Linked DNA regions of Homo sapiens: all the other regions are linked to region 3. Evidence: promoter capture Hi-C in 16 types of primary human blood cells and fetal thymus (Javierre and others, 2016). All regions are on one chromosome and are shown on one strand. The core of a region is centred on a gene start or on the middle of the fragment in contact, and the rest is flanking DNA. Distances in the headings are between cores, read along the strand shown. Region 1 has its middle 11 kb from the start of CTSE. Region 2 overlaps CTSE (cathepsin E). Region 3 holds the start of NUCKS1 (nuclear casein kinase and cyclin dependent kinase substrate 1).

Region 1 (3,131 bases), core at 543-3,042, 290 kb after region 3:
CATGGCCCCTTCCTCTGTCTTCACAGTCAGCAGAGTGTCTCTGACTCTTCCCCCAAATTCATGTCTCCCTCTGACCACAGAGGGGAAAGGTTACCCACTTTTAAAGACTCCTGTGACTAGATTCAACCCATCCAGATAATCCAAGATAACTCACCTCCAGGTTGTTAACTTAATTACATTTACAGAGTCCTTTTTGCCATGTAAAGTCACATATTAACAGATTCTAGGGATTAGATATGAGCATGTTTTGGGGCCATTATTCTGCCCATCACAATTACTTATTCAAAAACAATTTAAAATGCAATGAAAAAATAGTGACTCCTCAGCTTTTTCATTTGCGCCGTCAGGTAGATAATTTACGGAGTACAGGGATTGAGGCAGCAGGAACAGGTTGGAGGGAGCAGAGAGTCGAGAGGCCTGTTTGAGCATATTAAGTTGAGATGCCAGTAGACTTTTCAGGGGTGATATCAGCTTGACCCTTGAATGTGTGGGTCTGGTGGTCATAGGCTTGTTAGGGCTGGAGATATTAATTTGGGAGATTATCAGTGAATAGAAAGTGGTTAGAGTCATGAAACTGGCCAAGAGCACCCAGAGAGAGTTTGTAGAAGAAGGAGAAGCCCCAGGACTGTGCTCTGAAGACTGCAGGTAGGTGAAGGAAGAAGAGGAAGCCAAGGAGGCCAAGAAGGAGCACCAGTGGGGATGCAGAAAAACCCCATTACCTCCTCCAGGAGGCTTCCCCACGCAGCCTGGATCTAAAGAGCCTCCATCCTACTCCCTAGTTGCCTCTATCACACGCTCTTGTTCATTTGGTTTATAGGATGATCACAGTCCGTAATTCTCTTGTTTTGTTTCTTTGCTTATTGCCTGTCTTTCCCCACTGTATTGTAAGTTTCATGACAGCAGAGCTTCACCCATCTTGATCATTGCTGTACCCCCAGCACCTAGTCCAATGCCTGGCTCAGAGTAGGCACTCAATAAATGTTTGTTGAGTGAATGAGCGAGTGAATGGATGGATGAAAACAAATTTAATTCCTCTGCCCTCAGTCCATAAACAAAGAAAATGGTGCTAAAATGTAAAAGTTAAGGGGGAAAAAAAGTGCAGCTCTTTTATATCCTCCACAGACTGTTCCTCATGTTAGGGTCACATAGGAGTTGTCTACTGAAAGCACCAGGAAGATACCTCTGTTCCGCCTGTGCCACCTTGCTTGAAATCCTACCATTGTCCGGTCATTCCCTGGAGTGAGGCATCACCCTCTTAGCACAGTGCCCACTAGCTAGTAAGCACTCAATACATTTGAGTTCTTCTTTTTTAAAATTATTATTCAGTCTTTAAAAAATGCAAATATCCCTGCGAAAGATGGCCCACAAAGTATTAACTCCTTACTATGAATTCGTGTCTCAGCAGAAATAGCTGAGGAAGAACCTGGTTTTTCCTTAAACTTGTTGTTTCCCCGACCAGCAGCACATAGCTTGGTTTTTGCATTATCTGAGATGAGTCTACAGGGATGGGGTTGCAGAAAGGGGGAAAGGGCTTTCCAGAAAATGCTAGGGAATCTAAAGCAAACTTCAATGTCTGGTTTTGCCGAGGCTCATGCCTGCACAGCATGAAAATTGCTCTACAAGCCACATCAGCCACTGGCTTTTCATTTTGGGGCGGTGTGAGTCTCCCTGTGAGCTGAGCCAGGCAGTGGAGGAAATGAAGAGGCTCTCAAGGGAGGGGCAAGGGAAAGAGACTGGGCAGGGTGGGTGCAGCTGGCAGTGAGAGACTCTGCCTTTTCAACATGGATGGCTCCTCCCGCTGCCGCTGCCGCTCCAGGAGACAGGTAAACATTCTGTGCAGGGTTGAGACTTCTCTTTCAGTTTCTTTCCTACTTGTCTGGAATTTGGGCTCACATAATATAAAGTGGGCACTCTGTAGTCTAAAGGGATTAGAAAGCAAGGCATCCCCCTCTTCCCTTGAATGGTTTTCTAGGGTGCTATATGTCCCAAACCCCCAAATCGATTACATCGTCTGACAACTGCTTGTGTGGACAATGGGAAGGAATATTGTGCTTGGGGTATGTCTAAGGCTTATAGGAAAAGGCTTGAGCTGCAGGTTAAGTATCTTATGATAAGCAGTGTGGGAACCTACACGCAAATGTATATTGCTGGGTGAATGTTCTCCATCTGTTCTAGATCCCTAACTAGATACAGAGTCCCTTGAGGGTAAACCCATGCTCTAATCTAGACTTTTTGGTCCCCCAACACCCAGCACAGTGGATGGACATGGGGATTTACCTACACTTCTACACCTGTGCTGTCCAGGATGGTGAGAACTTGAATTGAAGTGTACTCCAAGTGTAAAATATACCCTGATTTTGAAGACTCAGTAGGAAAAAAGAACAAAAAATACTAATAATTTTTAAATGAGAACAAGTTCATATAATAGCATTTTGATATATTGGGTTAAATAAAATGTACTATTAAGATTACTGTTACATGCTTGTTTTTACTTCTTAAGTGCGGCTACTAAAACATTTTAAATTACACATGTGGCTTGTGTTGTTTCTACTGAACATCTCTGGTTTATATTGCGCTGGCCTCCCCTCTCCCATCCTTTCTTGCTCCCTTTAAACTCTAATCAGACTAGAGATGCCCTTCTTACTGGGCGTCTAAAGCCCTCGGAATCTTTTATTGGTCACAGCAGGATCTCCTGGGTATTTTGTATTTGTCCAATCACTGATATTCCTTAGCAAATGTGTTGATCATGTCATTTAAGCCTTCCCTATAATTGCACCCTTTGTTCTAAGGTAAAGAAATTCAGGCTGGGTGCAGTGGCTCATGCTTGTAATCCCAGCACTTTGGGAGGCCGAGACAGGTGGATCACCTGAGGTCAGGAGTTCAAGACCAGCTTGGCCAACATGATGAAACCTCATCTCTACTAAAAATACAAAAATTAGCCAGGTGTGGTTGTGCACGCCTGTAGTCCCAGCTACTCAGGAGGCTGAGGCAGGAGAATCGCTGGAACCTGGGAGGTGGAGGTTGCGTGAGCCAAAATCAAGCCACTGCACTCCATCCTGGCTGACTAAGACTTCATCTCAAAAAAAAAAAAAAAAGAAAAAGAAAAAAAAAAGAAATTCAGGCAGCAGCAA
Region 2 (2,980 bases), core at 145-2,644, 260 kb after region 3:
GCCAGTAAGCTTGCTTGGTGACTGGGACCCAATTCAGGCTCCCAGAGAAATGGGAGTGGTCGTAGCCTCCAAAAATCAGCTCGCTCCCCGCACCACCTTCTGGGTTACTACATGGAGAGAAAGACAAACTGTCCAGGAAGGGCCACTGCAAAACTCTAGGGGTGAGCCTCAGCTAGGACCCTTTGCTTCTTGGTCTCATGCCAAGCACACAGGTAGGCAGAAACATCAGTCTGGGCTTTGAGACCGGGACTCTGACTACTGCAAGTGAATTGGTCTGGGCCTTTTTGACACAAGGTTAGAAACAACTCCCCTTGACCATTTGTGAATGTGTTTCTGCTTCTTGGATAAAAAGGTTAAGGAGGTGGGAAATGGGGCCAGCAGGTCTGTCATTCAGAACCAAGGCCAGGACCATCCTGGGTGGGTATACACTGTGTGGCTTGAAGCAACCCCCAAAGACACCTTTTCCCAAAGTATCTTCCCCACTATGGTTGTGACAGTGCCTGGCGTTTTTGTGTTATTCACTCCTTATGTTAAGGCAAAGAGGCTAATATGAATGTATCATGACTTACTAGAGCCTGAAAACTTATTTTCATTGGTATTGATTTCTCAGATTATGTTCTGGAACCTAGCAGGACTCTGGAGAAATAGGACCTAAGACAGATTCATTTTGAGGAGGAAAAGGATCAGAAAGATACAAAACTGAAATCAGGGTGGTAAAGAGGGAGAGGAGTGAATACCTGTAGGAATTTTAGGACAGTGGTTTTACAGAGGGAGTGGGGAAAGGAACTCACATTTGTTGATTACCTTGGTGCAAGGCCGTGTAGTGGGGATTTTATCTGTCTAAACTTATTTAACTCACATCAACCTAGTGGTCCGTGGAAGAAACTGAGCCTCAGTGAGATGAAGCAATGTAAGTGGCAGGATTCAAATCCAGGCCAGTCTGACTGCCAAGCCTTGATATTCTCCATTACAGCCCACTTTTCCCAGGCGACGGGAGAAGGAAGTTCTGCAAGGGGAAGCAGAGGTGTCTAGACAACTTGCCTCTCTTACTCACAGCTCTTCCTAGGCCTGGTCCTGAGTGCTGTCATGCTGGAGAGGAAACATAGCTTGATAGGGAAAATCCAGGACCCTCCATGTGGGAGAGGGGAATGAGAGGAATGGGCTTATGCTGAAACAGTGTGAACGCAGGCCAGGTCTGAGCTGGAAAAAGTCAGCAAGGTCAGAAATCACCTTCCTGTGTAAGGAGGAAGAGGAGATGACCCTCCAAGGATGCCGGGCAAGAGTGCCTAGAAACAGGTGAGCCTCATGACCTTTTCCAAAAACAATGTGCAATTTTAAAAATTGTTGTAAAAATATGTCACATAAAATGTACTATCTTACCCATTTTTGAGTCTACAATTCAGTAGTGTTAAGTATGTTCACACTGTTGTAAAATCCAGACCTTTCATTTTACAGAACTGGAACTTTATACCCATTAGGCCATCAACAACGGTTTAAGAATTCCTCACTTCCCCTCCCCAGGCTCTGGCAACTGGCAGTCTACTTTCTGCCTATGAATTTGACTAGTCTAGGTACCTCACCTAAGTGGAATCATACAGTATTTGTCTTTTTGTGACTAGCTTATTTCACTTAGCATTATGTCCTCAAGTTTCTTCTATGTTGTAGCATGTCTCAGAATTTTCTTCCTTTTTAAGGCTGAATAATATTTGATTATTTGGATATGCCACATTTTGTTTATTCATCCATCAGCATGCAATTATTTTATTGTCAGCTTTTCATTTTTTTCTGCCTCCTCCTCCTGCAGGTACTGTCTTTCTTGTTTCACTGGGTCCCCAGTGTGAGCATCATAATCAGCATATAATAGGAGCTTGATATTTAGTGACAGCATCAATGAAGAACCAATCCCAGAGATTCCTTAAATTTAAGCCAGTGTGGTAGAGTTTACAAAGTGTTTTTACAGCTACTTGATGAAGCAAATCCCATTTCCTCAATATTCAGAGAGGTTAAATGTTTTGACTAAGATCACACAGCTGGTAATGGACCAAGCTACCTAAACCAGGTCTTTTGACTGCTAAGTCAAGTGTATGTGTTGTCTCCCTGTAGTTATAACTGACTTTAACCTCACAGACTTGATGGGCCTTACCTGCTCATGTAGACAGAAAACATCGGCAAGTCCACCAGGTTCTGAGCCATCATGTTGTCAAATACTGGAGTCACTCCTCCCACAGCCAAGGAGGGGTATCCCAGGCCCAGAATTCCATCAAACTCTGCATCCACAAAGGTCTGGCCTGGCTCTGTGACACTTTCTCCAAACTGCTGGCCAACCACGGTTAGTCCTTCCACCTGGTAGGAGAAAGCCCACAGGAGAACAGGAGAATGGCACAGGGGATTGCTGGCAAAGGGTTTGACTCCTGGATTTTCCTCTGTCTTGAAGCTAATGCCTCTCCTTCCCAACTTTCCTTGACTAAATGAGCACAAAGATGCTTGCTATATTCCCAAAAAACAGGACATTCCAAACCTCAGAAGCCCTCATGCACCTGCCAATCATTGCGCCCCTCCTCAAGAAGAGCCAGTCTCCTGACTTCTAATAACATATATTGGTTTTGCCTATTTTTTGGATTTTATATAAATGGAATCATCCCATATGAACTCTTTGGTATCTGGCTTCTGTCACTCATCATGTGCTTATTGTACACTGTTTTTTTGTAACTTGTTTCAGAAAATTTTGCCTACCTTAAGGTCATGAAAACATTTTCTCATGTTTTCTTCTAAAAGCTTTATTGTTTACTTTTCACATTGCGATCTGGAACCTATATGAAATGTGATAATGTGTAAGGTAGGAATTAAGATTTATTTTTTTCTATCTGGATATTCATATGACCTGGCACTATTTAATAAATATACCATCATTTCCTCCACATACTGCAGTATCTTGTTCAACGCAAGTCAGATGACTGTGTTGATAGTTTTGTATTTTCTG
Region 3 (3,229 bases), core at 377-2,876:
GAGATCGTGAGTTACCACAGATGCTGATTGAAACAGAGCTAACAGCAGCTTTCTCCTCATTCCCACCCCGTGTGTAGGAGTACGCAGTCTCATACCACCACCAGTTGGAGGATGATCTAGTCTGGAGACAGAACGGTGTAGAACAAAACCCTTGCCAGGGTCCCAAACCTCTCTTTAGAACTCTAATTAAAGGTACTTCCGTTTCCCACACAACTTGGAATGAAGGGGAAGCAACGACTGTTAAAACATTTAAAAACTAAGCCTTTATCTATTTATTTAGAAAACACACTATGCAAAGAAGCCAATTCCTTACATTAAAAATATTTATTTGCAACAGCTCTCCTTTTTAAGGCCTCAACAGATTGGACTAAACCACACCCCTCCATAAATGGCACATTCCATACAATAGCCTGGAGAATGGCATAGGACGATTCCACCGACAGCTGGGGGAATAGCAAACTTGTTGAAATTCCGAGAATGAAGTCTGATGGTTACCCGAACCTAGCCCTTTTATTACTAAAGTCACTCGGGGACAAGAGGGTTACAAAAATATCCCGAGACGCGTACGCGGGTGAGAGTGGAACGAGAACCACACGGGATTTGGGCCGTGCTGTTAACCCGCACCTCCCTGAGTACGGACATTTCCCCGAGGAAGGACATTTCTAGTCGGAGAGAAAGAGCGAACTTTGGGGTTAACTCTCTCAAAACTCTGAGGTGGGGAGAGAGGCAGCAGCCCATTATTTTCCAGGATCCAGTCCCGAACTCTCACTTTTGCCCGGGGGGAAAAAAACGGGTCCCGCCCACGCTCGGCCCGATCCGGGAGGCGGGGCCTGCAGCGACCCCGAAGGACAGAGGCGGGGCCGGTTGGCAGTGCTGCCCCTCCCCCTTTGCCAGGAACACCCCCGTCCGCTACAGAGAGGGCTCAGGGCCCCCACCCCCGCGCCAGTCGCTGGGGGAAGGGGCAATACGGGTGCCTCCGCCCCTCCTCGCTGAAGGTGGGGAGTGGAGCTCGAGTCCGCCCGCCTCCCCGCGCTGGCTCCAAGGGGACGGCCCCGAGGAGGTGGGGCCTCTTGGGGGCGCTGACTTCACACCCCTCCCCCTCCGGCCGCTGGCGGCTCAGGGACACCCCGCCCGCTCTAGTGCGGTGGGTGGGGGAGGCAGCTGAGCAGACCGGAGCCCTGCAGCGGCGCGGGGCGGGGAGGGGCGCGCGCACGGGCGCGCAGCCACCACCCCCGCGCGCCAGCAGGGCCCCCCACGCTCAAGGGTGCGCGCGGGCCCCGAAAGGGAGGAGGCCGCGCGCGGCACCGGGGATGGCGGACTCTAGCCTTCTGTCCCCCACTCTTTTCACCACTCGCCCCCATCCCCCTCCAACCCGCTCCAGGCCTCAGACTCCGCACTGACCTGACAGGCCGCGACATGTTCGCTGTCGAAACAGGACCGAGTCGAGAAGCCAAAGACCAGGACCCCCCCCACCCCGCGCGCTCGGCGCCCCACCCCCCCCGAACTTCAGCCGATGGGACCGCTGCTGCCGAACCCCGAGCTGCTGGCTTCTCAAACTCCGCTGCTCTTTGGTTCAGGGCTCCTGGAACAGACGAGCCCCCCGCTCCCCCGTCTCTTCAAAATGGATGAATCAAACCAGCCGAAAATGCGCCAAAGCCGCCGTGCAACCAAACCCACTAGGGTTTGTGCGCTCCTCCCCAACACGCCTGCTCATTGGAGACTTCTGCCAGATGCGCCCAGATCATTAGTCCGTTTGAATCATCACGTCTTCCAGGCCCCGCCCTGCTCTCTGATAGGCTCCACCTTCACCGTGGGGGTCCTGTTAGTCAAGATGCTCTGAGAGCGCACGGCCGCAAAACAAAAATGGTCGCTGCTTAGCCCGCCCCCTGGTTTCCACTCCAGAGTTGCAGATTCGTCTGGGGTCGTATCTTAGAAAGACTAGAAAAAAAGATTTATGTAGGGTTCAGCGTTGCTCAGTGTTAGTTTAATGGTGTTTCATCTCGTCTGCCTTGATCACCTTGAAAATCCTCTAATAGCAAAACCCGTGGGAGAGGCAGCAGATTCGTCACTGCGGGGCTGCTACAGAATTGGAGGGAAATTCCTTAGGTTCAAAAAATTTGACCTTAAACCTACAAGCCCCTTACCCTGGCTTCGGCATTAACCCTCAGGGACCAAATGAGGCTGCTGGAGTAGAGAGGCAGGATCATAATCAAGGAATATCTTCACCCCCAATTACCATTCTCCATTCTGGACCTTGAGATCCACTTCAGGGTCATTAAAGTCCCAGTCTGGTGCATTACTATTTTAAGAAAAGAGTCAGGTGTACAATAACTAAGAGCATGAGCTCAGGGGCCACAAGGTATTTCAGGTGGAATCCCAGGTCCACTACTTAATGGTGGTATAACTTTCCTTCTCTGTGCCTCAGTTTTCTCATCTGTAAAATGGGAAACAAGGGTACCTAACTGCATAGGCTTATTAGTATTAAATGAGTTGATATATCTATCAAAAGTCTTTAGGATAGTCTCTGGCTCACAGTAAGTGCTACGTAAGTGTTAAATCCAAGTTTTAAAAGATGATTCCGTCCCTGGGTAGAGATGGGTGGAGCTGGCTCAAGACCCTATGAATTCTATTGATTTACCCTTGCACTTTGAAAAACAAAACAAAGACTCTTCGAAGTCATATAACTGAAAGTAACGCACATCATTTCACTTAAATCCGTGAGCATTTGTTGGATGCCTAATACTCTCAAAGGCAGAGCTCAGGATTCCTATGTGAATGGCTAAGGCTGAGTCTGCTATCGAAAATAGACGTCAATCCCTGTCACAGTCAAAGCGATCATTTTTGTTTGGTGGCTGTGCGCTCTCAGAGCATCTTGACTAACAGGACCCCACGGTGAAGGTGGGGCCTATCAGAGAGTAGGGTGGGGCCTGGAAGACGTGATGATTCAAACGGACTAATGATCTGGGCGCATCTGGCAGAAGTCTCCAATGAGCAGTCAGTTAACAACCAATTGAAGATACACTTTCCAAACAACAACAACAAAAAACACACCACATCTGCCTCCTGAAAGTCTCCCTTTGTAAAATCTGGCTTCCCAAAAAGAAGAGAATAGCACAGTCCACCAGTGAAGCATTAAACAAATTAATATCTTTTGTCTCTTCCATGTCATTCCACCCTCTGTCCCTCTTATTTTTATTTTTAATTTTTATTTTTTCGAGACGGAGTCTCA

Evidence for each region. Contacts are between HindIII fragments. The CHiCAGO score rates a contact against its expected background, and 5 or more counts as called.
Region 1: a contact is called between a fragment that was not itself captured here and the fragment with the promoter of NUCKS1 in region 3, in 1 of 17 cell types (naive B cells). The highest score is 5.4, in naive B cells.
Region 2: a contact is called between a fragment that was not itself captured here and the fragment with the promoter of NUCKS1 in region 3, in 1 of 17 cell types (naive B cells). The highest score is 5.1, in naive B cells.

What each region holds. Positions count from the first base shown.
Region 1 is chr1:206,033,477-206,036,607 of GRCh38, forward strand. No RefSeq gene overlaps it. Among named protein-coding and RNA genes, the nearest start is that of CTSE, 11 kb to the left of the region's middle. The HindIII fragment of the contact is 4,129 bases long and covers 1-3,131 here.
Region 2 is chr1:206,013,788-206,016,767 of GRCh38, forward strand. It overlaps CTSE (cathepsin E), which reads right to left. Exons shown (of 9, transcript NM_001910.4): 5 at 2,144-2,343; 6 at 1-107. Among named protein-coding and RNA genes, the nearest start is that of CTSE, 8.6 kb to the right of the region's middle. The HindIII fragment of the contact is 2,766 bases long and covers 12-2,777 here.
Region 3 is chr1:205,748,556-205,751,784 of GRCh38, forward strand. NUCKS1 (nuclear casein kinase and cyclin dependent kinase substrate 1) reads right to left here and starts at 1,627. Exons shown (of 7, transcript NM_022731.5): 1 at 1,402-1,627. The coding sequence starts at 1,418. RefSeq lists a silencer at 801-1,400 and an enhancer at 1,821-2,070. The HindIII fragment of the contact is 8,985 bases long and covers 1-3,229 here.